6 separate regions of the Homo sapiens genome follow, and regions 1, 3, 4, 5 and 6 are each linked to region 2. Evidence: promoter capture Hi-C in 16 types of primary human blood cells and fetal thymus (Javierre and others, 2016). All regions are on one chromosome and are shown on one strand. Each heading gives the region's core, a stretch centred on a gene start or on the middle of the fragment in contact. The rest is flanking DNA. Distances are from core to core; before and after follow the strand shown.

Region 1 (3,858 bases), core at 827-3,326, 1.3 Mb after region 2:
TCTCACACAAAAGCACCTACTGGCTGTTGGGGAGGAGGGAGCTTGCAGCTACCAAATGGCTTGTCACCATGCTTCTTACCCCAGCAGCCAGACTTTGGGAGGCTACTTTTCTCTGAGCCAGGTGCCCCGCCCACTCCAGGTTCTGTGTCTCCCCTCTTGGAAGGGAGATGGCCCTCAGTGACACTGTAAGAAAGTTTATTGCCTTGAGAATTCGGGAGTATTTGAGTACAATGGGAAAGTCTTCTAGAGAAAGCATGAAGAAGACCTAGTGGTCTTTGCCAATGTGGATTTCTGGGACAGACCACTTCTTCCAAATCCTTAGTCAGTTTCCTCCTAAGGCCAACTAAATTCTTTTTCCTGTTGTTGGTGAATAACTTCCCCCTTCTTTTCCCACTCCCAGCTGGAAGGATCCCTTCTCATCCAAATGACTGACCTAGAAACCAGTCATTTTTCAGCTATGCCCTCCTATGCTTTAATGTATAACCAGAATAAGTAGATGGTAGAGGAATGTCTTCCAACTTTGAGCCCATACACGTATGTATTTGCCATTCTGGGGATCTTTGATCTTGATGGTTGATCTTTACCTGAGGATGTAAGTGAGGGAAGAAAGCACTTGTTACAAACCTTGTCTAATTTGTGAAGGGCAAACTCCAGAGTTTGTGTTTCTGCTAAAGACTTTTATAGTTTCAGATTAAACTGGAAGTCCAAATTCCTGTGCATTAGGCCTGTTTGTTGTCTTTCTCCAAAGGTTGAATGGATTTCACTGGCCTTGTTTGGGTTGAAGGGTACGGCTTTTAAGGCACTTGTTGGCATGAAGGTAGTACAGGGACCTCTGGCAGCTGCTGACCAGCTGTTTGGGGATGATATTTACTGGCCTGCTCAACCAGGCCTCGATTATCTGAAGGTTAAGGGAGCAGGAAGATATCTTCCTTGCTGAGTGCTCCTGGCCAAGCAGGAGGCTTTGCTGTGACATAGGCTCTTATGCTGCTTCATTTCTAACTCTACCCTCATATGTCCATAAACCTAAGTTTGCTACCACTGATATTTCATCTGGATAATTTTGAAGGCTCTGCGTGTTTCTCTTCCTCATTCTTTTGACCTGAGGATTTAATTATTGCTCTTCTTAAAGACAAAGCCAAGATGCTGAAATGCTTGGGAAAGCTGCTGAGAGTGAGCCCTCCTGGGGTTTGAAGTTGTCCTAATGCTCATCAGAACATACCTCCCCAGCTGGAAAGATTCGAAAGCTTACTGGCCAGGAAGGTTTAGGTAACTAACCAAACACATAAGGTTTTTTACCCTTTAGACAGAACCAGAATGGGAACCAGATTGGCAATATGAAACACCTGAGTAACAGGATGTGGTATTTTAAAATTCTCCCTGGCACTGCTATGTAATTCCAAAGTTGAAGCTGTGCCGCTGAATTGCACAAAGGTTGGCCAAAATCATATTTAGGTGAAACAGATTTTTGTTTTGTTTTGTTTTGTTTTGTTTGAGACAGAGTCTCCCTCTGTTGCCCATGCTGGAGTACACTGGCATGAACTTGACCCACTGCAGCCTCTGCCTCCTGGGTTCAAGAGATTCTGTGACCTCAGTCTCCTGATTAGTTGGGATTAGAGGTACCCGCCACCATACCTGGATAATATTTTTTTTTTTTTTTTGTAGTAGTAGTAGAGACGGGGTTTCACCATGTTGGCCAGGCTGGTCTCGAACTCCTGACCTCAAGTGATCCACCCACCTCGGCCTCCCAAAGTGCTGGAATTACAGGCATGAGCCCACCACACCCGGCCAGATGAATCAGATTTAACACCAGATATGTGTCTTTAAAGGAGACCCAACTCATAATATCAGCATATCCTGACTGGATTAACTGGTGGAAATCAGAAGGAAAGCAGACTCCTCAGTCTTTACTTAAAGACAGAAAACAAGCAAATTCCTGGTTAGGGGAACAAATGATGACTGGTACGGACACAGAGGGCTAACATTCAACACTGGCTGCCTCCAACAGGGCACAATTGGATAGTAGTTGAGAACTACCTTCTGAAGTACCATTTCCTGGGTTCAAATCTTAGCTACAGGGTTGCAGGTTACATGGCCTTGGGCACATTCCATAACCTCTCTGTACTTCAGCTTGCTTATCTGGGGAGAATAATAGTACCTACCCCAGGATTGCTGGGAAGACAGCTAATCTAATATACTTGGAATACTTTTTCCCATCTGATTTTGAAGGTTTTGTTTGTTTGTTATTACTCCCCCCTGAACAACTGAATTAAGTGTCTTTGTGAAAACTGAAAGCAAATGGAAAATTTCTTCATGAAAATTGAATACCCTTCACCTACTTGAAAAAGGTTAATTATTCAAGCACTTGATTTTAATAAAGCCAGTGCGTTTGCTTGTGCTCATGCTAGAACAGACAGGGAGTTACTCTCTGTTTTCGTCCTGGAAGCCTGCACTTTGGTTTGGTCAGGCTGACCTCGCTGGTCTCAATTAAGTCCTCCCCACACCCTCTCAGACTCCTGACAGAGAAGGAGCAATCCTTCCCCCTGAAGTCAGCATTGTCACAGAAGGAAGTGGGAAGGGAGGGACCACCCGGATTAAACTGAATGACTAGGCTAGAAATAAAAATTCTTCCGAGTGTGTGCAGGCCCCATACTATCCTTGCCCACATAGCTGGGCAGGTTGCCATGGTTACTCCCCTTCCCGCATCCTTCTACCCTGGAAGGAAGCCTGCCTCTCTAGGGGAAGTAGAATCTGAACAAATTGCTTCCTGGTCTAAAAATGGAAGTTACTAAGTGAAGTAGAATCTCCTCTCTACTTATATCACCCCCTCCAAACTTATTTTAATCCCAATACTTAATTTTCTAACCTTCCTAGTTCTTGCATCATCTAGATAGCAAAACATGAAAGCTTATGAAATTTCTGGAACCTAAAAGTTACTACCTCAATATAGAAGCAGCCTGGCAAGTTTTCCCTACTACATTTGTACTAGCTAGCTAGGGGCAAGTGATTTTTAACTAAGTCAACTGGTAAAAATTCTAAGTGAATGGGGCAGGCTGAGTGAGTGTTACGTTGAAGGTAAACAATGTATGAGGGCTGTCACTTAGATTTTCAGGTAACCATAGAGTAAAGGGAGCAGGTAAATAGGAAGTAACAATCCTAGAATGCTGGATTTGAAGCACCTTTCAACCTAGAAGAAATCTGGATGAGGGAAATATGGTTTAATGTTGTCTCTTGGTAAAAAACTACCCTATTGCTACCTAGCAATATGATGCAAAATGTTAGTCCCAAAAAGACTTTGATCTTTATATGAAAGATGAGCTGCCATACACAAGTTTGCATTTGACAAATTAATTCAGTCTTTCAAAATTGGACATTTAGCTTGATGTGTATTTCACAGCTTGAGGGAACTCATCTAAGACAATAGTTCTCAGAGCTGATTCCCAAACCAGCAGCATCAACATCAGCTGGGGACCTGTCAGAACTGCAAACTCTGGAAGTAGGGCCCATCCAGCTGTATCTAAACTAGCTCTCCACCACGTGATCCAAGAGTAACTTTCATAATTCAGTGGTTTTAGGATTCACTTCTTCAGTGGAAATCATAACAAAGTATTTGAATTCCTTCAGTCATGGAGATAATAAAGCAAAAGCCTTTAAACACAGTGCAGTTTAACTGAATCTTAGGATGCAGAAAGATTAAAAAGCATGGGATTTGGATATTTTTCCCATATACCAAGTATGACTTTCTTGATCCTAGGAAATCCAATATACTTTTGGTTTGATATTATCACCTCACTTCCAAATCTTTTCCCCTCTGCTGGGGTTTTTAAAGAGTATAATTAATCTTCATTTATTAGGAGACTG
Region 2 (4,182 bases), core at 1,336-3,835:
AGAGCAGGGAGCCTAGCTTGACTGTGTAGGTTCGGCTGGATTATTTTAAGCGTATCATTCACTCCCTCAGTGAAGTGAGGGAGTTAGACTAAAACACCTCTTGATATCTCTTCTAGCTTTAAAATTCTACGCAATCCACGGGGGAAGAAATTCAAGAAACCTTGCATACATCAAAACACCAAAAACCCCACTTTCCTTAAAAATGGTTTACAACGAACAGATCACCATCCCTGACATTTCAGGTTTTGCAGTTCACAGTTCACAGTACGGAGGAATGGGCTAAGTCACACTACAGCAGGCTCCCCTCCACGTCTAACAGAGGGGGCGGGGGGTTTTCTTGGAAGACTCGGCCAGTGTCAGGCAGCAAGGGGTAAGGGCTGTCTCGGTGGAGAAAGAAACCCAGGCTTCCGGGAACATAAACTGGGGGATGTAGGGGCAAAGCACCTGCTAAATCTCGTTAGGGTTGGGACTTCAAAGAGGGTTGGGCCTGCTCTGAGAAACAGTGTGGGAATCCCAGCCCCGACCTAAAGGCGACACGTTCACTGCCAAGGACTCAGAGGGAAAGCAGGGAGCGGGGAATGGACGCGGGAGGTGGATGCGAGAAAAAGGCCGAGTAGGGCCCCAGCCCCGGTCACTCACCACGAGCGGGATGGAGCAGATGAGCACCACCAGGGAGGTGGCAATGAGTAAGATGACCATCTGGATCTCGGCGCCCGCGATGCGGCGGAAGCTCCGGCGGCGCCGAAAGTCGCTGAGGCGCGGCAAGGCTGGGGAGGCAGCGGGGTGGCCCCGGGAGGCAACCGAGGCGGCCGCGGCCGCGTGGTGCTGCTCGGTGCCCAGCGAGGTGCGGCGCATGAACTGGCGGTGCATGCGGAGCAGCGCGCCGCACACAAGCACGTTGCAGAGGACGGTGGCGAGAATGAGGAAGGAGCTGAAGCCCGCGTACATGTAGGAGTAGGCGGCGTGCGCCGTCACGTTGGTGGTCCAGTCGATGAAGCACCAGGTGTCTGGGTACTGCAGCCGCGAGCTACCGAGACCCATGTTGGGCAGCGCGCAAAAGAGCACGTTGGACGCATAGACTGCAAAGAGCGTGAGGCCCGCCAATCGCTTGTCCACGTAGTGGCTGTAGAAATAGGCATGGTTGATGGCCAGGTAGCGCTCGACACTCATGGCGCAGATGATGCTGAGGCCGGACAGGCTGAAGAAGAGCAGAATGAAGGTGCTGTACTCGCACAGCGGCTGGCCCCCGGGCCATTGGCCCTTCATGTACGTGGCGATGGTCACCGGGCTCACCAACAAAGTGCCCAACAGGTCGGTGACAGCCAGCCCACATACCAGCGTGTAGAAGGTCGTCTCCTTCTGCTCCTTGCGCGACTTGCACAGCACCACGATGGCCACCAGGTTGCCCACCACCCCGAAGATGAACATCACCGCCGGGATGGTCACTGGGCTGTTCAGCCGGTCGGGGCTCAAGGAGGCGGACGAATTGACCCCGGGAGTGGACATGATAGTGGCTGGCGGTGCGCAGCCTTGGAGTGCAAGGCTGGGTCTGGGGATGGTAGAAGAGAGACAAAGCTGCCGTGAGCGGAAATTACCACTTGTAAGGTGTTAGACCCGCGCCCGAGAAACGATACACTGATAAGACAAGGGGAGCAACTCGATCCTACTTTCTGGATTGTAGCCACTTACCAACTGCGGCCACCAAAATCTCCAGGCTCGCGATACGTCCTGCCAACAGCACACTCTTGCTGACATTAATATTTATAAACTGATTTTCCCATTCCTCTTCCTCCCCACAATCCAACTCACTCCATTGCCAAGATGAATAAGACCCATCTCAAGGGAAAAGTAGCTCGCTAGTGCTATTCTCGATAGATTCTGAATCAATAAAATGCTCACTGAAAACAAGTTACAAAAGCAATTTGGAGAGCGCGCTCTTCCCTTCTTGGCTCTCTTCGGCGAGGGCCGCATCCCTGCGTTCTCTACCCGTTGACCCCAACGTCAGCCCAACGCCATCTCACCTGTAGCGGCAGCAGCGGTGGCAGCCTCACGAGCCCCCAGGGTCAGCCCTCAGATGTCCTGGACCCGCCTCCAACCTGCTTTCACCTTGTCCTGCTCAGTCTGGAAACTGCCAAATCTTCGGCTTCTCAAAGCCGGTCTCAGTGGCTGTCGATTTTTGGACACCGAGGTCAGAGTTGCCAGCTTTCAAAAACTTGGGAAACAAGAGGTGCAGCGGGATGGGTCAGTGAAGAATGGTGCTGGATTTCTTACTCGCTATTTTTTTTCCTTCAAAGACGAGTCCCAGCTTTGCAGTGCCCGCCGGTCTCGTCTGCGGGAGGACAGCGTTCAGGTGTGAGGCTGTGCGCGCAGGTGGCGCGGAGCCTTGGTCCCCAGCTCTGGCTGCCCTCCGCCCCAGCCACGGGCAGCACGGGCGGCTACTGGAGTTTGCGGCTGCCGCTGAGGCCGCTCCTGGCTACCTGGGGGCGGCTCGGGGTCCACTCTGCCAGAGGCTCTGGCCTGGGGCTGTTCATCTTCCTCTCGGGCTGCCGGGCTTGGAGCTCCGCTCTCGCCTTTCCACCCTCTGTACAAACTTTTCTCCTCCTCCAAGTTTCCCTGGCGGAGGCGGAGGCAAACCGCGCGCTGCCCGGGCGCCCATTGGCCGGATTGGAAGGGGGCGGAGCGCGTCCTCCCTGGGCGCCGCAGGGAAGACTGGCGGGGGGCGGTGTCTGGGCTGGGGCGGGGCTGGGCGCGCGGGGTGGGGCGGCTCCCGTGGTTTTCACGCCCTCGGAGGTGCGGAGTGGGAACTCGGAGGGGACCCTGGGAAGCCCCGGTGCTTTCCCCGGCGACCGCTTAGCCGCTCCTGAACTCGGCTTCCAGTGGGGCCACCACTGAAACCGGCGACCGTTTCCGCCTCGCTGCCTGCCGCTCGGAGTGTACTATTTCTTGAACCTCCTGTCCGCGGGCCGCAACATCTAGATCGTGGAAGAGAGGGCAGTTGTTTTAGGATTCTACCTAGGGTTGGCCGAGAAAGGAGAAGAAATACGGTGTCTGCGCTAGCGCGTGCGCCCCGGGGTTAGACTTGGGTGCGCCCAGCGGACGTGGTAGGTGGGTGGGTGGGTGGGTACCAGATTGGGCGGGGAAATAACGAAGAATCCATCCTCTCACCATAAAAGGAGTTGGAGTCAGTTGGCAGTGCCCAGACTGCGGGCTGCGCTTGGTCGGGCACCCCAGGCAAAAAAGAAAAAAAAAAAAGAGAAAGAAAGAGGAGGAGACAGTGATTGCAGCCTCTCCCGGCGCAGGTGGCAGAGCCTTGCGGCTTTGGAGAGAGGTGGAGCCTTGGTGAGGTTGGGAGGACTGCCTAACTGCGATCTTTTTCTCCATTCTTCCTCCTGGGAACTTCTCCGCCCTGAAAGGGTAGCGTGAGCTTCATGCCTTCGGCCGGCCGTGTTATACTCGTTAGACCCAATTCACCATGAATCCTTTGAAAGACTAGTGGAGAGTGAGAAGGGGGTTTCAAAGTCACTGGAGTAAAGGAATTCTCCAAGCACCACCTCATGATTAATTCTTGGAAAAGCCTGTTTGCGCGGCCCTTAGAATCATTTTGACTTCTTGTCTAATGGTGAAGTTTTTCTCTGTAATCCTTCTACTCTGTTTTCTAAAACCAGAACTAAAAACCTAAAAAATTGTAAAACTTCATGGTGTAATTAAAACCCCTTCACCATTTTTTTTAAGTAAGATTGTGTGGCCTTATTGCACAATTTAAATTCCTGGAAAAACCTCTTCCCATCTGCAGTGTACAAGCATTCTAACATATTATGTCTCCTCACAGGGTAAGTAAATAACTGGATTCTTTTATGTGATAAGCAGGTACCCATTTCTTAAATGTTATTTCGTGAACGAACAAACCTCCTAACTGGTTCTTCAGTTAGTCTCAGCAACACATGGGTAATAAGAGAAACTAAAAGGGCTTTCCGATTTCAAGTAATTACAGGTCATAAAATATCCAGAATCATATTTACTTGCAAAAGGCACTATATGGATATACTAATAAAGAATTATTCTGTTTATACTATTTACTTAATAATATGAGAAAGAAAAATACACATTTGTTAGCCAATATTAAGATTGATGGTGATTGGTCATTTTCTTAAAAATCTTCTTTTAATCAGTACTCTAATCACT
Region 3 (4,277 bases), core at 1,486-3,985, 1.5 Mb after region 2:
TTTTTCTAAACTTGGGATCTGCAAGAAGGCCAATTGCCTAAAATTTCTGAGAATGTGCACAAGATTATTTTATCACTACAAGCTTTTAACTTTTTAAGTTATTATGCAAGTATTCTGCTACCTAAATCTTCCTATTTCCTTTAAATGGTAAGAGTTTCTAAAAGAGACAATAATTTAACAAGCTCAACTCTGCTTTTTCTGAGTTCAGTGGTCCTAATATACATGTAGAGAAAGATGCTGGTGGTGTTCACCTCTGTACAGACCATCTATATGTTAGGTGACATTGATAATGGGTTACAATCAGGGAAACTAATTGTATTTAGTGACAAAAATAAAAAGTTTCCTATTTTGATTAAAAAAAGAAAAAAGGAATTAATATGAATGATTATTACATATTCATTAATTATGTGTTCATTTCACCAATTGACTATTATGTTTGGACTTTATACACGATTATATGCACAACAGTAAATGTGACTACGGTTTTTAACTTAATTTTTATAATATAGTGACAAGATTTAAGAATTAGACTTAGAAGCTGTAAAACCTGGCATTGTTTGATATTATAGTTAGAATTATTAAGCAAAGTATACAGATTAGATAAATAAGGTGGAGGTATCTTTACATGCAATTGATAACCTAACTGTGGCAATTAGGGCAGTATAGATCAACCCAAGGTCTTTGGACATTCTCAGAAATCCACAAATTTCTTACACAATTTTTTACATTATGTTTTCATTCAGTGAAAGTCTAAAAAAAAGTTAATGGAAGAATAACTTTTTCATTAATTGTCATTAAAATACACCTTTACTTGTCTCAGGCTAACAAGTGCAGGCCAAACATTGTCATGATGAACTACAGAAACAAAGGTTTTACAGTAATTGAAAGAAGAAATGTAGTGGGAAAACTGAGTTATAATACATGACATGATAATATAGCAATGCTAAACTCAAGAGAAATATTCCTGATTACGGCACTTTAATTAAAAATGGAATATGAATGTGGGCTAAAAGTTTTTGAAAAAAATAGGCTTACTCAGCAGTTAAACACATGCTACCAATTGCAAAGGTTTATTAGCACCGTAAGAAAGTTACACAGAGACACATCTAGTTTGACTAATTTTTTTTCACTAAAATATCCATAATAAGGGAAGAGAATTAACATTTATAAAGTGTCTTTTGTGAGTTTGTGATGGGCACTGTTGTTAAATAATATAATTGTCATAACTTTATTGTGGAGTAGAATTTTTGCCTTTTTACAGAGTAAGCTGATGCCCTGGAGGATTAAGTGATTGTGCTAATGAAATTAAAAAGTGATTACAAACGTCCAGTGACGGAGAGGGTATGAGGAGACAAGACTTCATTGAGGCACATTGCTGAAGCCTCACTGGAGGACAATTGGCAGATCCTACAGGAAAATAAAATATGCAAATCTTTCATCTCAGCAATTCTACTTTTAGATCTCTGTCCTAGAACACTTCCCCCCACCACTGCCCTGCAGTTACACAGAAAAGCACAAGTAGATGCTTAACATTACATTGTTTTTAGTCAAGGGGGAAGACTGAACAAACCTGGACTATCCCTAACACAGAATACTCTGGAACATTTACAAAGAACAAGATAGGCCCAGAATAGGCAGCACAATATTCAGCATGCAGAGCAATTTAGGTTTTTAATCAGATATTCCTGTGCATACATACAAAGGTCAGTAAACACTTAGAAAAAGTTCTGCAAAGATAAACAATGGTAGTTTCTGGGAAAGAGAGGGCAAGGAGGAGTGAGAGGTCATCTGAAACTCTACTTTATCTGTGTTGTAAAGCTTCTTCCAGAAATGAGTCATGTATTATTTGTGTAATAAAAAATAACTTAAAACAAAAACAAAAACAAGGGAGAGAGAGAGAGAGACAGAGAGAGAGAGAGAACTACCCAAGATCACACCTCTAGTAGAAGCTTGATCCCCGCATCATCTCATTTCAAAACGCTCGCTCTCTCCACTGTGCCCCACTACTTCTTTGTGGCTTTTATATTTTTTTCCTTCTGTGTCTTTTCTTCTTTTAGGTTGGTGCAAAGTTAATTGCAGCTTTTACCAAAAGTAATGGCAAAAACCGCAATTACCTTTGCACCAACTTTATATATCTTTCTCTCCTCTAAAACCTGATTTATCATCTTATGTTTATGTGCTATATTTTGACTCAGGGTCCCTCCTTTCTTTTTTTATTTATATAAATTTAAGGGATAAAGTGCAGGGGTTTTTTTTCATGGATACCGTGTGTAGTAATGAAGTCTGGGCTTTTATTATAACCATCACCAGAATAGTGTACATTGTACCCATTAATTAATTTCCAATCCCTCACTCTTGCCAACCCTCCCACCCTTCCCAGTCTCCAGGGTCTATTATTTCACACTCTATGTCCGCGTCTATATTTAATTTAACTCCCACTTACAAGTGAGAACAGGTGCTTTTTGACTTTCTGTTTCTCAATTATTTCATTTAAGATAATGTCCTCTACCTCCATCCATGTTACTGCAGAAGACATAATTTTATTTTTTTATGGCTGAGTAGTATTCCACGTATACCACATTTTCTTTATCAGTGTCATCCATTTTATAAGTTTCATCCATTGATGGACACTTAGGTTGATTCTATGACTTTGCTATTGTGAATAGTACTGTGATAAACATACAAGTGCAGGTGTCTTTTTGGTAAAATGATATCTTTATTTCTTTTTTTTTTTTTTTATGAGACGGAGTTTCACCTTGTTGCCCAGACTGGAGTACAACGGCACAATCTTGGCTCACCACAACCTCCACCTCCTGGGTTCAAGCTATTCTCCTGCCTCAGCCTCCCGAGTAGCTGAGATTACAGGCACCTGCCACCAGGCCCGGATAATTTTGTATTTTTAGGACAGAAGGGGTTTCACCATGTTGGTCAGGCTGGTCTTGAACTCCTGACCTCAGGTGATCTGCTTGCCTCAGCCTCCCAAAGTGCTGGGATTAGAGGCATGAGCCACTGCTCCTGGCCGATTTCTTTTCTTTTGGTTGAATATCCAGTAGTAGGATTGCTGAATCTTACAGTAATTCCATTTTTAGTTGTTTGAGAAATTTCCATACTGTTTTCTCTAGAAGCTGTACTAATTTATATACATTCCCACCAACGGTGTATAAGCATTCCCTTTACTCGACATCCTTGCCCACATCTCTTATTATTTTATTTTTTAATAATAGCCATCCTGACTGCTGTACGATGATATCTCATTGCGGTTTTAATTTGCAATTCTCTGGTGATTAGTGATGTGGAGCACTTTTTCATATTCTTGTTGGCCACATGTGTGTCTTCTTTTGAAAAATATCTGTTCAATGTCCTTTGCCCACTTTTTAATGAAATTATTTTGGGGGTTGTGAGTTGATTGTAGATTCTGGATATGAGTCCTTTGTTGGATGCATAGCTTGCAAATGTTTTCTCCCAATCTGCAGATTGTCTGCTTATTCAGTTGATTATTTCTTTTACTGACAGAAGCTTTCTAGTTTAGTTAAATCCCATTTGTCTATTTTTGGTTTTGTTGTATTTGCTTTTGAAGTCTTAGCCATGAATTTTTGCCTAGGCTAATGACCATAAGTTTTTCCTAGGTTTTCTTTTAGTATTTTTATAGCTTCAGATCTTACATTTAAATCTTTACTCCATCTTGCATTAATTTCTTGTGTATGGTGAGAGATAGGAGCCCAGTTTCATTCTTATGCATATGGCAGTCAAATTTTCCCAGCACCATTTATTGAATAGAGTATCATTTCCCCAGTGTACATTTTTGTCGACTTTGTCAAAGATCAGTTGGCTGTGGGTATGTGGCTTTCTTTCTGGGCTCTCTATTCCATTCCATTGACCTATGTGTCTATTTTTATACCAGTGCCATGCCGTTTTGGTTGCTATAGCCTTGTCGTATAATTTGAAGACAGGTAATGTGATGGCTCCAGCTTTGTTCTTTTTGTTTAGGATTGCTTTGTCTACTCAGGGCTCTTTTTGCTTCCATATGAATTTTATGATTATTTTTTGTAAGCAATGGCAACAATAGTCATTGCCATAGCAAAAGTAGCAAATATTTAACTTAACTGAGTACCTTCTCTTGTCACATGTCTGTATATGTAGTTGTGCTTCTTACAGGTTTACTGAGTCATAGTCACTTTATCTCCCTTTGAGTCACGCTAAGAACACTTGCTCTGTCCAGGCACTACAGGGAAGCTCTGCCTTCTTTGTTGGCAATTCTAGTTCTTTCTCCAGTGCAT
Region 4 (4,074 bases), core at 763-3,262, 1.6 Mb after region 2:
TTTTCTTTAAGGGTGAAATGTGGTGATACATGGAGGGTTGAAATCCAACCCTCTGCCAGACCTCAAGTTTTGTGATTTTTGTTTTAGGCAGTAACTAGAATAAATAAATTGCACCAAGATTTTTAAAGCTATAACGGAGGGAGCACGCTTGTTGACATTAAAACTACTACTGGTAATGCCAGAAGACATTTCTTTAAAGTACTGTAATTGTGTTACATCCTTAAATCTAAGTGCAGTATCAGCCGCAGATATCTGATTGTAGACTTGGTTTAAAAAAAAAAAAAGAACTGGAATATATAGATAATTGGCAATATTCTAAGGAAGCAGTGTTCCTATTTTATTTTCCAGATGATGCTACTTTATGTTCCTTTTATTTTTCTTCTTACCACTTATTTTACAAATGACATATATTAACTATAGGATATTTAAAAAGTAGAGACAAGCAAACAAGAACAAAAAAGTGCACGTGTAATTCCACAAATGAGGGGAGAAAATCAGCTAACATTTTCATGTATATTTTCAGACTTTTTTCAACATACATGTACATATAAAATATTTTATAATGTATATTTTTAATTTCGTACATATTTAAACTTTTATTATAAAACAGGAAATTTGTAATATTTTGCTTGATTTAATATCATGAACATTATTTCCTATTACTAAGTCTACCTCTTCACTTTTAATCGTTGACATAATTTACATAATCCCTACCTTTGGTCATTTAAGTGTTTCCAAATGTTCACTCTTATTAACAACTTCAACAAATATCCCCAATATTGCTTTTTTTTTCTTTTTTAAAGTAAGCAGAGAATTGGAATAAATTAGAAATCCAGGGCACTTACTCATCCAACAGATATTTATTGAATACTTATTTGTGCCAGATATTGCATTAACTGGGAGCTGGGAAAACAGAACTGGTTAAGGCTAGATCTCCACTTTTAATTAACTTTCAGTCTCATGGAATAGAAAGATGAGCTGAGGAACTGGAGAGGACAAATCGCTCCTCTCTTTAAAGTAAATGTAGTTCAAGAGAAAGCTGCTGGGTCAGTGGCCAGGTGTGTGTGTGTGTGTGTGTGTGTGTGTGTGTGTGTGTGTGTGTGTGTGTGTGTGTGTGTGTGTGTGTACACATACGTATTAACTAAGCAGTTTCTAGAATTAAAATCCCTAATGTTAATAGGCTTATGCATAAAATAGATTAATCCACAACACCTGCATGAGCCACGATCCTAGGAGCTGCAGAGCCATAAAAGCCGGACACAGTACCCAGCAGCCTCGCCTCGGCTCCCGGCAGAGAACACCCTCTCCCCGGCCTCCCGGCGCTGGCGCGATCCCACCGCGGGGACCGCCGCCCTGGTCCCCGGCCGCTGCACCCCCTTCTCGCGTCCTACGCCTGGCGGCCAAAAACAAAACTGCCTAACCACTTCCACTTGGAGAAGCCCTCCTAGCCGAGAGGGGCATTCTGAAGATCAAGGGCGAGGCTGGAAAACAAACTTTGTTACGTGTTAACTTAGTTGGAGCAAAGCGATTCCAGGAAAGGAGTCTAAAACTGTGCGCAGCGTTTTTATAAAAAAATGTTTCAGTGGATACACGGGGGAGCGGGGCCGTCTATGGCAGGGCTTCAGAGCAAGCAGGAGACTGGCAGGCCGGCGAGAGCAGGTGGCCCGCCGGCCGCATCCCGGCCTCCTCCTCCCCGCTCGCCTGCATTTGGACGACGGCTTCCGCGGCGGCCGGAGGGGAGCATCCTCTACACTGCCAACTCGCATCAATGGGACTTTCCTCGTGGGAACTGCCCCTCCCGGCGGACGTGCCCTCCGGGTCCGGCGTGGGCGGGCGGGTGCCGCGAACTCCTTGCAGACCTTGGGTCGGCTCAGTGCTCCCTCAGCGCTGGGGCCGAGCCTGCACCACCCGCCGCCGTCGCCGCCGAGGGGGCGGGGGAGGTGCCGCGGGGGGCGGGCGCGGCGCGCGGGGAGGGGAAGGGGTTCTCGCGCGATTGGGCGAGGTTTCCGGTGTTGTGACTGAAACCCGTCAATATGGCGGCGATCGGCCGCGGCCGCTCTCTGAAGAACCTCCGAGTACGAGGTAAGCCCGCTGCAACCCTCACTCCCCACCGCCCGGCGCCCGCCACCCCTGGCACTTGCCTTCCCCTGGCCCTGGGTTGGGGAGCGAGCCGGGGCGCTGGCCGGAGCCAGGGCAGCCGCAGCTGGCCTGCGAGCCAATCCTAATTGGGGCTGTGTGTCTGTTTCGCGCAGGGCGGAATGACAGCGGCGAGGAGAACGTCCCGCTGGATCTGACCCGAGGTAACGCGGGGCGCCGCGGGCGCCGCGAGGGCGCGCTGCTGGGGAGGAGCCGGGTCCGGGGCTGGGGGCCAGAGGCAGGGGCGGGCCCCGCACGGGACCGGCGGGGTGCGGGGGCCAGAGCCGGAGCCCCGCCTGCCGGCCCGCGGGAACCGAGCCCGGGGCCGCCTCGCCGGACCCATCCCCCTACCCAGCGCCCGCTTCCCTCGCCCGAGCCCTTCTCCGGGCCTCGGGCTGCTGCGGGTGCGGGGGAGCCCCGAGTGGAACTCGGCAGACCCGGCGACCCTCTGGGCTCGAGCTCCGGCAGAGTGGTTTGCACCTATCCCGGAGTCCGGCAGCCCAAGCTAGGGGCAGCTGGAGGGAGGTAGAGGCTGTTATTTAGGTTGCAGGAGGATGTTTGAGGGAAGAGCGACCACATCCTGCCCTCCCCGTCCCCGGAGCAGAAGCCGGACCTGCTCGGTGCTTGCCGACTGCGTGACTGCTTTCCCCTTTGCCCACCGTCCTGTGGGGACCCGCAGCATTGATAACTTGGTAGTGAAACCTAGAACTGGTCATTACTGCTAAATGTCTGGTTTATGCTGTTTCCCTTCTGCTTCCCTTTCCCGGGCCGCTGGGACTGTAGTTGGCTAAAGACCGCCCCCTCACCCTGCTGCAGGTTCATTGTTTACCTTCTGCAGTGGAGATGGGTTTGTTTACACCTTCCGAACTGGGGAAACTCGGGTGATATTTTTAATGACCTAATCCCGTTACTAGCCAGTGTTTCCTCTATCACTTACAGTACTAGAGTTTATTCGACATTATCTCGTTGAAGATTTAGTAGTTACGTACAAGATTCTTTTCTCTTCCACGGTAAACAGGATTGAGCCTACTGATTCCGACGAAGTCATATTTCACACGGGCTGTAGCTTGGAGTGTAACCCGGTTCAGCTGTACAGAATCAGTTTCTGAGGTCTATAAAACACCTTAGGAAGTAAACAAAAAAACTTGTTGTAGACATTCTGTATGAGATCAGTTTTTTACCCTATGTCGTACCTGACGTAATGACTGTTATCTACAGTAATTTGTTAAAGCTGGGCTCCTTGTTGACAACGGCTAGAGTGAAAGCATAGTGCATTTTCTAATTTGTTTTATTTTGCTTATCACGATGTAAGATTACTGTTTTATAAACTGAATGGTCAGCTTTCACTTAGCTACAAGAGTACATTTTTATAACTTAATATTTTATTCTGAAAGTTCAGGGACTTAGTTTTGGGTGAACTAGGTCCTTTTACAAGACAGTTTCTAAAATATAATACAATATAGTAGAGCTTAAATCCTGAAAATGGCTACTAATTAGATTATCAATGCACTAATTTCCACCATTTTTTTCAGCAGATCGGTTTTGAGAATTAGTATAGAAAGATGTAAAGCTTTTGACTTCTGTGCAACTGTTTGGAAACTTGACTATAACACACATGTGAAAAATCTATATAAAATAGATTCACTAGAAAACTTCCTAACAAGGATAACTTCTACAATTTCAGGTCTGTAAAAGATGTAATTAGTGAGTGATTTAATTTATATACAGGCATATGTGTTTTAGATGAAGGTGAAGGGAGCCCTTAATAAACTTGAGTTTAACTTGTGCATTAAAAACCTGCTCAGATGTGGTGCTGGAAATATATAGTTGTATTTTAAATTGAGTTCGTCGAGCTCCTATATATAGTGGTTTCTCTGCTTGGTGTCAAAAATGTTGAGTTGTGGAAGAGCTTAGGTACACATCTGATTTGATAATTTT
Region 5 (4,156 bases), core at 631-3,130, 1.5 Mb after region 2:
AAGCGTGTCACAGTATTTTTGTAAGCTGAAAGCTTTTTTTAAGCTTGCTTTGAAGTTGATAGGAGAACCTGCAAAAAGCGCAATGAGCACTTAACGATCTGTGAGAAGTGAGGTGTATTATGAAGACAGGACCACTTTTTTGTTTTGAAGAATGTAGGAGTTTTCACAATCATTTTTTTTATCATGAGTTAAGAGCAGTTGCTTTGTTATTAGAAAGACTTGGGTTCCAGTACCAGCTGTACCAATTACTGTAGGACCCCAAGGAGGGTTCTCGGCCTCTTTTAGCCTCAGTTTTCTCATCTGCTAATGGGGATAATAAGTCTACTATGTCATAGAATTATTGTTAGGATTAAAAGGAAATGTAGTAAAAACACGTAGCACAGTTCCTAGTACATCATAAAGAAAGACAATAATTGGCAGCAATTTAATTAATATTTTTAAAGGATAAAAGGAGAAAAAACTCAAATAAAGACCCAATGGAAATAGATGAATAATAGATGATAGCTATCAGCTGCTGCCTCAGGGATCAATAATAGTAAAAAAAAAAAAAAAAAAAAAAAAAAGCATCCAATTGTTGCAGGTGTTAAATCACATTTTGTTTTGCTTAAACATAACATAAAGATTTTCATTATCACATCAACTTGATCCTCTTGTAGATGCAGTCTCTTCCTGTGCCTCTCTTGCTGTATTACTCTGTTTCCTTAGGTATAAGTTCTACTCTTTGTTGACTTCAGAGTGCTGTTCTCTCAGTGTTGCCTTTTTTGTTTTGTTTTGTTTTTGAGATGGAGTCTCACTCTGTCGCCAGGCTGGAGTGCAGCGGCACTATATTGGCTCACTGCAACCTCTGCTTCCCAGGTTCAAGTGATTCTCCTGCCTCAGCCTCCTGAGTAGCTGGGATTACAGGCATGTGCCACCACGCCCAGCTAATTTTTGTATTTTTAGTAGAGACGGGGTTTCACCATGTTGGCCAAGATGGTCTCGATCTCTTGACCTGGTGATCCTCCCGCCTTCGCCTCCCAAAGTGTGTGTGTTGCCTTTTCAATGTTTGAAAATTCTTGATTTTGTGTTCATGTTTTAGTGGAGCTTGAATTCAATTGTCCACCGTTTCTGTTTGTGCAGCCCGCTTGAGGGAAGAGAGGGGTGGGGTTAGTGTGCCCGGACATGGGGCACTTTGACAGCCAGTCTTCAATCCAGGTGCTCCTCTTTCCTCCTGGACAAGGCAGCCAGCGGGACTCTGCTCAGCTTCGCCCACTCAAGGGCTCACTCGTAGTTCTCAGTATTTCTGTTGTGTAGAAGTCAAAAGTGCCCGGCTGTCCCTGCTTCATACCCTCAAGTAGTCACCCATGGGCCCCTACCTGCTCCCAATATTCTCCATCTCTGAGTGCGGAACCCTCACGGAGTGGCTCCAACTTTTATAGCTCTCTCTCATGCTCTCTTTGGGCTTTTATTACCTCGTTGATCTGATCTCTCTTCAAATCTTTTAGGGATTCCTCATGGTTTCTAACACACTGTGGGTTTGCTTTTTTTTCTTACTTCCAGTGTGATTATGTGTGTGTGTGTATATATATATATATGTGTGTATATATATATATGTGTATATATATGTATATATATGTATATATGTATATATATACACACACACAATCATATCATATATATCATATATATATATATATTTTTTTTTTAGTCAGTTATCTTTTCTATCCTTTCTAGAGATTTAGGGTGAGCAGAGCTTGCTGCCACATGAAGCTCAGCCTACCATCTTGACTGGGAACTTTTAATCACATATCTAAGGGGGAAAACATTGGTAAGACATTTAACTGCTACAAAGCATCAATATCAGAAAAATAATGGGTTATCTTAAAAGAATCACCTAAGGCTTAGGTTTATACAATGCAAAGAAGAGTGAAAAATTCAATCATCCTCAGGTATTGACAGTGTATTTATGATAACAATGAAGAGTGTGCACATGGTAAGAATAAGACAACCATCCTAAAGAAGTTAATTATTTATCTGGGCTTCTCAATTCTTGAAATAGGTCAAGGAGAAAGCAGTGTTTACTTGATCTAATGAGTACTCTTCCCTATCCATAGGACTTAGAAAATCTGAAGAGAATTTTAACTTAGATTCCAAAATTAAAGTATAAACGCTAATAACATATAAGCTAAAATTAAAGTTAACTAAAGCTGGGTCAAAATTGTTTTCACTTACAGTACTTTGTATCTAGGGAAAAGAATGAATGTATATTGATGCTGAAGGATGTCCATGGCATATAATTAATGAATTAATATTTTATTATAAAATACATATAATTTCTGTAAAATTGTATAACTAAGTTAGAACAGGTTGTGCATCATCTCTTGCTTTTGAGAGCATACTAGTTTTAAAACCTGTATCCAACAAGTGATCTCTATTACAACATTAAAATGAACTTGGGGGCAAAGGATGGATCATCAAGAAATGTATACATTTATTGAAGAGATTTTTTTTAAGTAACACTAACAAACTGATGGAAGTTACTTCAGCATCTTGATTCAACAAAGAATATTAAAGTCCAGTTTTCAATAGCAGTAACATATTCAATAGCATATTCTGCAAATATGAAATTAATTGTTCCTTCAAATGAACTAGCCATTCAATGTGAGAATTCTTGGCAAATTTTCTTGAAAAGGCAAGAAAGTTAACCTTTTTGTAGTCTGTGAGTATTACCCAGTGGTTTAGGATTTTCATGTTCAAACTCACCAAAATAGCCCGTTTAACTTTTGTTTTCAAAATTGCACATTGTAGTAATTTGAAATCATATAAAGTCAAACAACATTATTGATTTTATTAAGATAAGTGTACCTACCTCCTCATAGAAGAAAACTTATTTTTTGTTAAATAATTGAATTCTTTATTGTCTTAAGATATTGTTCTTCTATTTCAATAACAGAACTTCAAAATATTTCAGATTTCATTGATCAGTTGGTTGAATTATAATTTACCTCAAAACTTTGACAACAATCTGCTTTAGATAGTTTTTGGGAATAATATAATCACATTTTCTTATAAGATCACAAAATTACCCTAGAAAATTAATTTTTAATTATTTACTTTCTTTCTGAAAACCAAAAATTGCCTTTTCTTCTAAATTACTAAATAGTAATATAATACTGGGTTTGCCAGTAGATCATATAAATTTTTATCATCTCAAATTATTTCACCTGATACCTATTATAAAATTTCCTTTTTACCCATCATTCCTCAAGGCAGTGTTTCTCCCAATGTGGCCTGTGGATCATCTATACCAGAATGAGCTTAGATGCTTTTTAAAAATGAAGATTCCTGCCCTTATTCCACCACCACCATAGCCCCCTTCCTGAATCAGAACATCTTGCTTTGAGGCCTACGTATCTCCATTTTTAATAACTTGCCCAGGAGATTCTTATGTATACTGACAATAGAAACATTTTAACCCAAATCAGTCCATCTTTAAGTGGCAAATGCCTTTTTGATTTTTACAAAGTCAAGAATAGCTTGTTTTGAGTTGTTATAGAAACTCATTTTTTTAGGGACACATAGAGAGTAGGAATGGAAGAATAGAGATATCAAGGAAAACAACTTCCTGTAAACCAGGCAGTTGGTATGAATCATTCTAGAACATCTCACTGTAGATGCTGGGCTTGCCTCAAGTGATACTAGAGCTAGCATTTGGCAGTTCACTTGTGTAGAAGCTTACAAGACTTTTGGGACAACATTCATTCTCCCTTTATGCTCGACACTCTACCCAGTGCTTCTCTAAGAGGCAAGTACCCTTGGGATAGATACTAACAGGTCCAATGTATCTATTACGCTTGGTTTTAGTTGCAATTAAAGATGACTTGCATACAACCAGTCCTGGATTAGAGCTTAATCGTACCTTAAAAAAAGGAAACAAGGCCAGGAGTGGTGGCTCATGCCTGTAATCCCAGCATTTTGGGAGGCCGAGACAGGTGGATCACCTGAGGTTGGGAGTTCGAGACCAGCCTGACCAACATGGAGAAACCCCGTCTCTATTAAAAATATAAAACTACTCGGGAGGCTGAGGCAGGAGAAGCGCTTGAACCCAGGAGGCGGAGGTTACGATGAGCCGAGATCACGCCTTTGCACTCCAGCCTGGGCAACAAGGGTGAAACTC
Region 6 (4,139 bases), core at 1,106-3,605, 1.5 Mb after region 2:
TTGAAGCTTTTACCAGCCTCAATGTGCTTTAAAAACCACATTTTCCACCATTTACACAATACGTTAACAAGAGAGAGAGATCAGGGATGTAGAAATGATATTTCATTTGTCTGAGGTGTTACTAGAGGCTGCTCTACAGGAACATTTCTAAAAACAAGAAAGTGAAGAGAGTGAACCGTGGCTCGCTGGCGGGTTTGGGCTGTGGTTCCAGGGGTTGCGGTTAAGACTGTGACTCCAGAATCAAGATCCTGAGCTTGAAGGTGGTCTCTGCCACGCACCAGCTGTGGGCCTTGGGTGAGTTCCTAAATGGTTCCATGACTCAGTTTCTTTATCTGTCAAATGGGGATAACAGTAACGTCTCCATTGACCTGTTTTGAGGTGATCCCTGAAAAGCTCCTAGCACAGCACCTGGCCCAGAAGGCAATCGGGGTTGCCCTCTGTTCTTGTTGTGACTGTTTTTTAAGAGCAAGCTGCTGCAGAAGCTGGCACCCCACAGGTCAGACAGCATAGCGCAGTGGAAAGCTCAGAGGATGAGCAAGGGAGAGACCCAGATTTTAGCCCAACTGTGTGAACCTGGACAGATCCCTTACGCAGTTTCTTTTTTGTAAAATGAAGGACCTTGGTTCGCTAATGTTTAAGGATTTTTTCCTTTCTCAAACGTTGTGTTCTAAACCTTGTACAGGCTTCTAATTGAAATTGTTCTACCTTTAAGGCCCATTTGTCTCCTTTCTTTTTACCAAAGCCCAGGGCCAAGCATGTCCCAGGTGTTTATTATATAGTTGCTGACTGATAAGAAGTGATTGTTGGAATGCTCTCTATTGGTCACTAGGAATAAACCAAGAATGTCTTTGGGCAGGAATGAAAATCCAGTGGGAAGCTCTGGAAGTCAAGGAATATTTCCCCATCAGAAGCTGGTCTGGGGTTTCTCTGATAAATTTGGAAAGCTCAGTGGTTGTCTTGTTTTTCTACCTCTGCTAATCAGCCTCTCTAAACAGATAAGAAACCAGGAAAATCATTTAGCTATATAAATTCAATACATAACCTTGTTAATCACGTTGCTGCAGCCTGCGCCTTGTGAGTTGGTCAGAGCAGTGGATGACTTTGCTTCTAAGTGCAGGTGAAATGCCACCAAATTCACATGCTGCCTGTGACCAATGCCTAACTCAGTCTTTCCAAGCCAGGGATAATCCCAGCTGGGATGTCACCTCTAATATGGCAACAAATGGTGGTGCAGCAAAAAATAATCATGAAACAGTCTTTCTTCCCTTCTTCCTAAACTTCATCCACATAGACTGTTGGATATTTATAGAAATCCAGCACAAACACAGGGAGGGGAACGACACACACTGGGGCCTGTTGCAGGGCAGGGGGAGAGAGAGCATCATGATAAATAGCTAATGCATGTGGGGCCTGATACCTAGGTGATGGGTTGAGAGGTGCAGTAAGCCACCATGGCATGCATTTACCTGTGTAACAAACCTGCACATCCCGCACATGTATCCCAGAAAGAACTTAAAATAAAATTTAAAAACAAATAAACAAAAGAGTGAACAAAGGAGGGAGCTGCGGGTAGAATTTTAACAACATGCATACCACTATTTTTATATTAGAGATTTCTAATATATGCTAATATAAATATATGCAATATTAAAAATCGTATTATACACACACACGAAAAAAGTTTAATTTGGGAGTTTTGTAAGGGCGTGTATTATTTTCCTGTGGTTTCTGTAACAAAGTACCACAAACTAGGCAGCTTACAACAACAGAAATCTATTCTCCCTCAGTTTTGGAGGCCAGAAGTCTAAACTCAAGGTGTCAGTAGAACCATGTTCCCTCTGGAGGCTCTAGGGGAGGATTCGTTTCTGGCCTCTTCCAGCTTCTGGTGGTTCCAGGGATTCCATGGCTTGTGGTTGCATCACTAAAACCTCTACCTCTCTTGTAAAATGGCCCTCTCCTCTTCTGCTGTCTCTTCTTCTCTATCTTATAAGGACACTTGTCATTGGATGTAGTGCTACCTACATAACCCAGAATGATTCCGTTGCATGATCCTTAATTACACCTGCAAAGACCTTTTTTCCAAATAAGGTCACATTCACAGGTTCTGATACATGGGCGTATCTTTTTGGCATATACATGGGCATAATTTATAGACAAGCAACCAACATCTGCATTCCAATCCCATTCACTCGTGCTAAATCAGGGTACCTCCACCAAAAGGTGCCCCAATCCTTGCCACTGAATTTCTGCCACTCTTTTGGTAGTAATTGATCAAGAAAAATGTGAGGATAAGACAGATCCAGGATTCCACTGGTTTTTAATAATGTTTGCTTCTGAATACACCACAGGATGCCACACCCTCCCCCTTGCACCCCTGGCTGGCTGGGCTGGTGAGTCTCCCCAAAGATCCCTGAGAGGAGCACAGCAGGGTGGGTTGGACCACACAGCAAGTGCTGCTTTAAAAAAACTTCCCCCAGGGTGATCCTACCACACAATGTGCTTCTCATCATTTCCCCATCGTCATCGCAATGAAAACCACTCAAAATATTTTTATTTACCCTATCAGTCAAAAAAAAAGTAGTCAGTGAGAGTTGTGTTTATATTTCTCAAATGGATTTTTTATTATTTTATTCATATTAGATGTTTGACATTGATCCACTGTTACATTTAATTTAAATTTATAATTCTTCAAACACCTTTTTTAACATTCTTATTGAATTTTTAATTATGGTAAAATATACATAATATAAAATGTGCCATTTTAACCATTTTTAAGGGTAAAATGTGGCATTACATACATTCGCATTGTTGCGCAAACATTGCCACTATTGATTTCAGGAACGTTTTCTTCTTTCCCAACTGTAACTCTATATCCATTAAACATTAATTGCCTGTTCCCTCCTCCCTCCAGCCCCTGGCAACCACCATTCTACTTTCTGCCTTTATGAATTTGACTACTCTAGGTACATCATATAAGTGAAATCACACAATATTTTTTTTTTGACACAGAATCTCGCTCTGTTGCCCAGACTGGAGTGCAGTGGTGCGATCTTGGCTCACTGCAACCTCCGCCTCCCAGGTTCAGGTGATTATCCTGCCTCAGCCTCCCAAGTAACCTGGGATTACAGGCTTGCACCATCATGCCTGGCTAATTTTTGTATTTTTAGTAGAGATGGGTTTTCACCATGTTGGCCAGGCTGGTCCCAAACTCCTGACCTCAAGTGATCTGCCTGCCTTGGCATCCCAAAATGCTGGGATTACAGGCATGAGCCACAGCACCCAGCCAATACTTGTTGTTTCGTGACTGGCTTATTTCACTTGGCGTAATGTCTTCAAGGTTTCTCCTTGAATGTCAGAATTTCCTTCCTTTTTAAGACTGAATAACATTCCATTGTATTATAAACCTCATTTTGTTTATCCCTCTATCTGTCAACAGACACTTGGTTTGCTTCCACCTTTTGGTATTGTAAATTATGCTACTATAAACATGGGATCTACCCATATCTGCTCAAGTCCCTGCTTTCAGTTCTTTTGGGTATACACCAGAAGTGGAATTGTTGGATCATTTGGTCATTCTATGCTTAATTTTTTGAATAACCACCATACTGTTTTCTATAGCAGCTGTACCATTTTATGTTCCCACCAGCAGTGCACAAGCATTCAATTTCCCCAAATCCTGTCCAACACTCGTTATTTTCTGCTTTTTTTAAATTATAGCCATTCAAATGGATGTGAAGTAGTATCTCATTTTGGTTTACATTTTTAACTAAAAGAAAATTCTGTCTAGAAATAATAGATGACTCTCTCTGTGGTACTTTCTTTTGAAAACCATTTAGTATGTAGAAAAGCATAACACAGGAAAGGGTTTTGGTGTGTTTCATTTTTTGTTGTTCTTTGAACTAACGAAAGATGTTAACACTTTTTTCACTTTTTCATTCAGACGAAGTTGTTATATATAAATGCATTGTTATCAATCTGATTTTTGCCATGGGACTTCCCAAATTATAACTTCTTTCTCCCGTAGTATCTGTTTATGCCCCTCTTCAACCACCCCTGGTAATAAGTTTGAGGCTGCAGCCAAATGAACGATAATCACCATCTCAGGCAGACAATGAATGAACCAGAATGGTGTCCTGGGC

The links. Contacts are between HindIII fragments. The CHiCAGO score rates a contact against its expected background, and 5 or more counts as called.
Region 1: a contact is called between a fragment that was not itself captured here and the fragment with the promoter of PTGER4 in region 2, in 1 of 17 cell types (M0 macrophages). The highest score is 6.2, in M0 macrophages.
Region 3: a contact is called between a fragment that was not itself captured here and the fragment with the promoter of PTGER4 in region 2, in 1 of 17 cell types (fetal thymus). The highest score is 6.2, in fetal thymus.
Region 4: the fragment with the promoter of RICTOR here is called in contact with the fragment with the promoter of PTGER4 in region 2 in 7 of 17 cell types (fetal thymus, total CD8 T cells, naive CD8 T cells and 4 more); the score reaches 9.9 in fetal thymus.
Region 5: a fragment that was not itself captured here is called in contact with the fragment with the promoter of PTGER4 in region 2 in 2 of 17 cell types (non-activated CD4 T cells and fetal thymus); the score reaches 7.7 in non-activated CD4 T cells.
Region 6: a contact is called between a fragment that was not itself captured here and the fragment with the promoter of PTGER4 in region 2, in 2 of 17 cell types (non-activated CD4 T cells and fetal thymus). The highest score is 5.8, in non-activated CD4 T cells.

Annotation. Positions count from the first base shown.
Region 1 is chr5:39,419,703-39,423,560 of GRCh38, reverse strand. All of the region lies in intron 1 of DAB2 (DAB adaptor protein 2), which reads left to right. Among named protein-coding and RNA genes, the nearest start is that of DAB2, 3.3 kb to the left of the region's middle. The HindIII fragment of the contact is 1,660 bases long and covers 1,247-2,906 here.
Region 2 is chr5:40,678,318-40,682,499 of GRCh38, reverse strand. PTGER4 (prostaglandin E receptor 4) reads right to left here and starts at 2,585. Exons shown (of 3, transcript NM_000958.3): 1 at 2,022-2,585; 2 at 640-1,549. The coding sequence starts at 1,506. RefSeq lists an enhancer at 1,040-1,567 and a silencer at 2,703-2,922. The HindIII fragment of the contact is 6,362 bases long and covers 1-4,182 here.
Region 3 is chr5:39,164,899-39,169,175 of GRCh38, reverse strand. The region is part of intron 2 of FYB1 (FYN binding protein 1); the gene reads left to right. It also overlaps the pseudogene GOLGA5P1. Among named protein-coding and RNA genes, the nearest start is that of FYB1, 53 kb to the left of the region's middle. The HindIII fragment of the contact is 1,567 bases long and covers 1,952-3,518 here.
Region 4 is chr5:39,072,337-39,076,410 of GRCh38, reverse strand. It overlaps RICTOR (RPTOR independent companion of MTOR complex 2), which reads left to right and starts at 2,012. Exons shown (of 38, transcript NM_152756.5): 1 at 2,012-2,082; 2 at 2,253-2,300. The coding sequence starts at 2,034. RefSeq lists enhancers at 1,600-2,126, 2,653-3,179 and a silencer at 1,815-2,714. The HindIII fragment of the contact is 5,742 bases long and covers 1-3,708 here.
Region 5 is chr5:39,183,046-39,187,201 of GRCh38, reverse strand. The region is part of intron 2 of FYB1 (FYN binding protein 1); the gene reads left to right. Among named protein-coding and RNA genes, the nearest start is that of FYB1, 34 kb to the left of the region's middle. The HindIII fragment of the contact is 3,670 bases long and covers 46-3,715 here.
Region 6 is chr5:39,213,792-39,217,930 of GRCh38, reverse strand. All of the region lies in intron 1 of FYB1 (FYN binding protein 1), which reads left to right. Among named protein-coding and RNA genes, the nearest start is that of FYB1, 3.7 kb to the left of the region's middle. The HindIII fragment of the contact is 4,693 bases long and covers 9-4,139 here.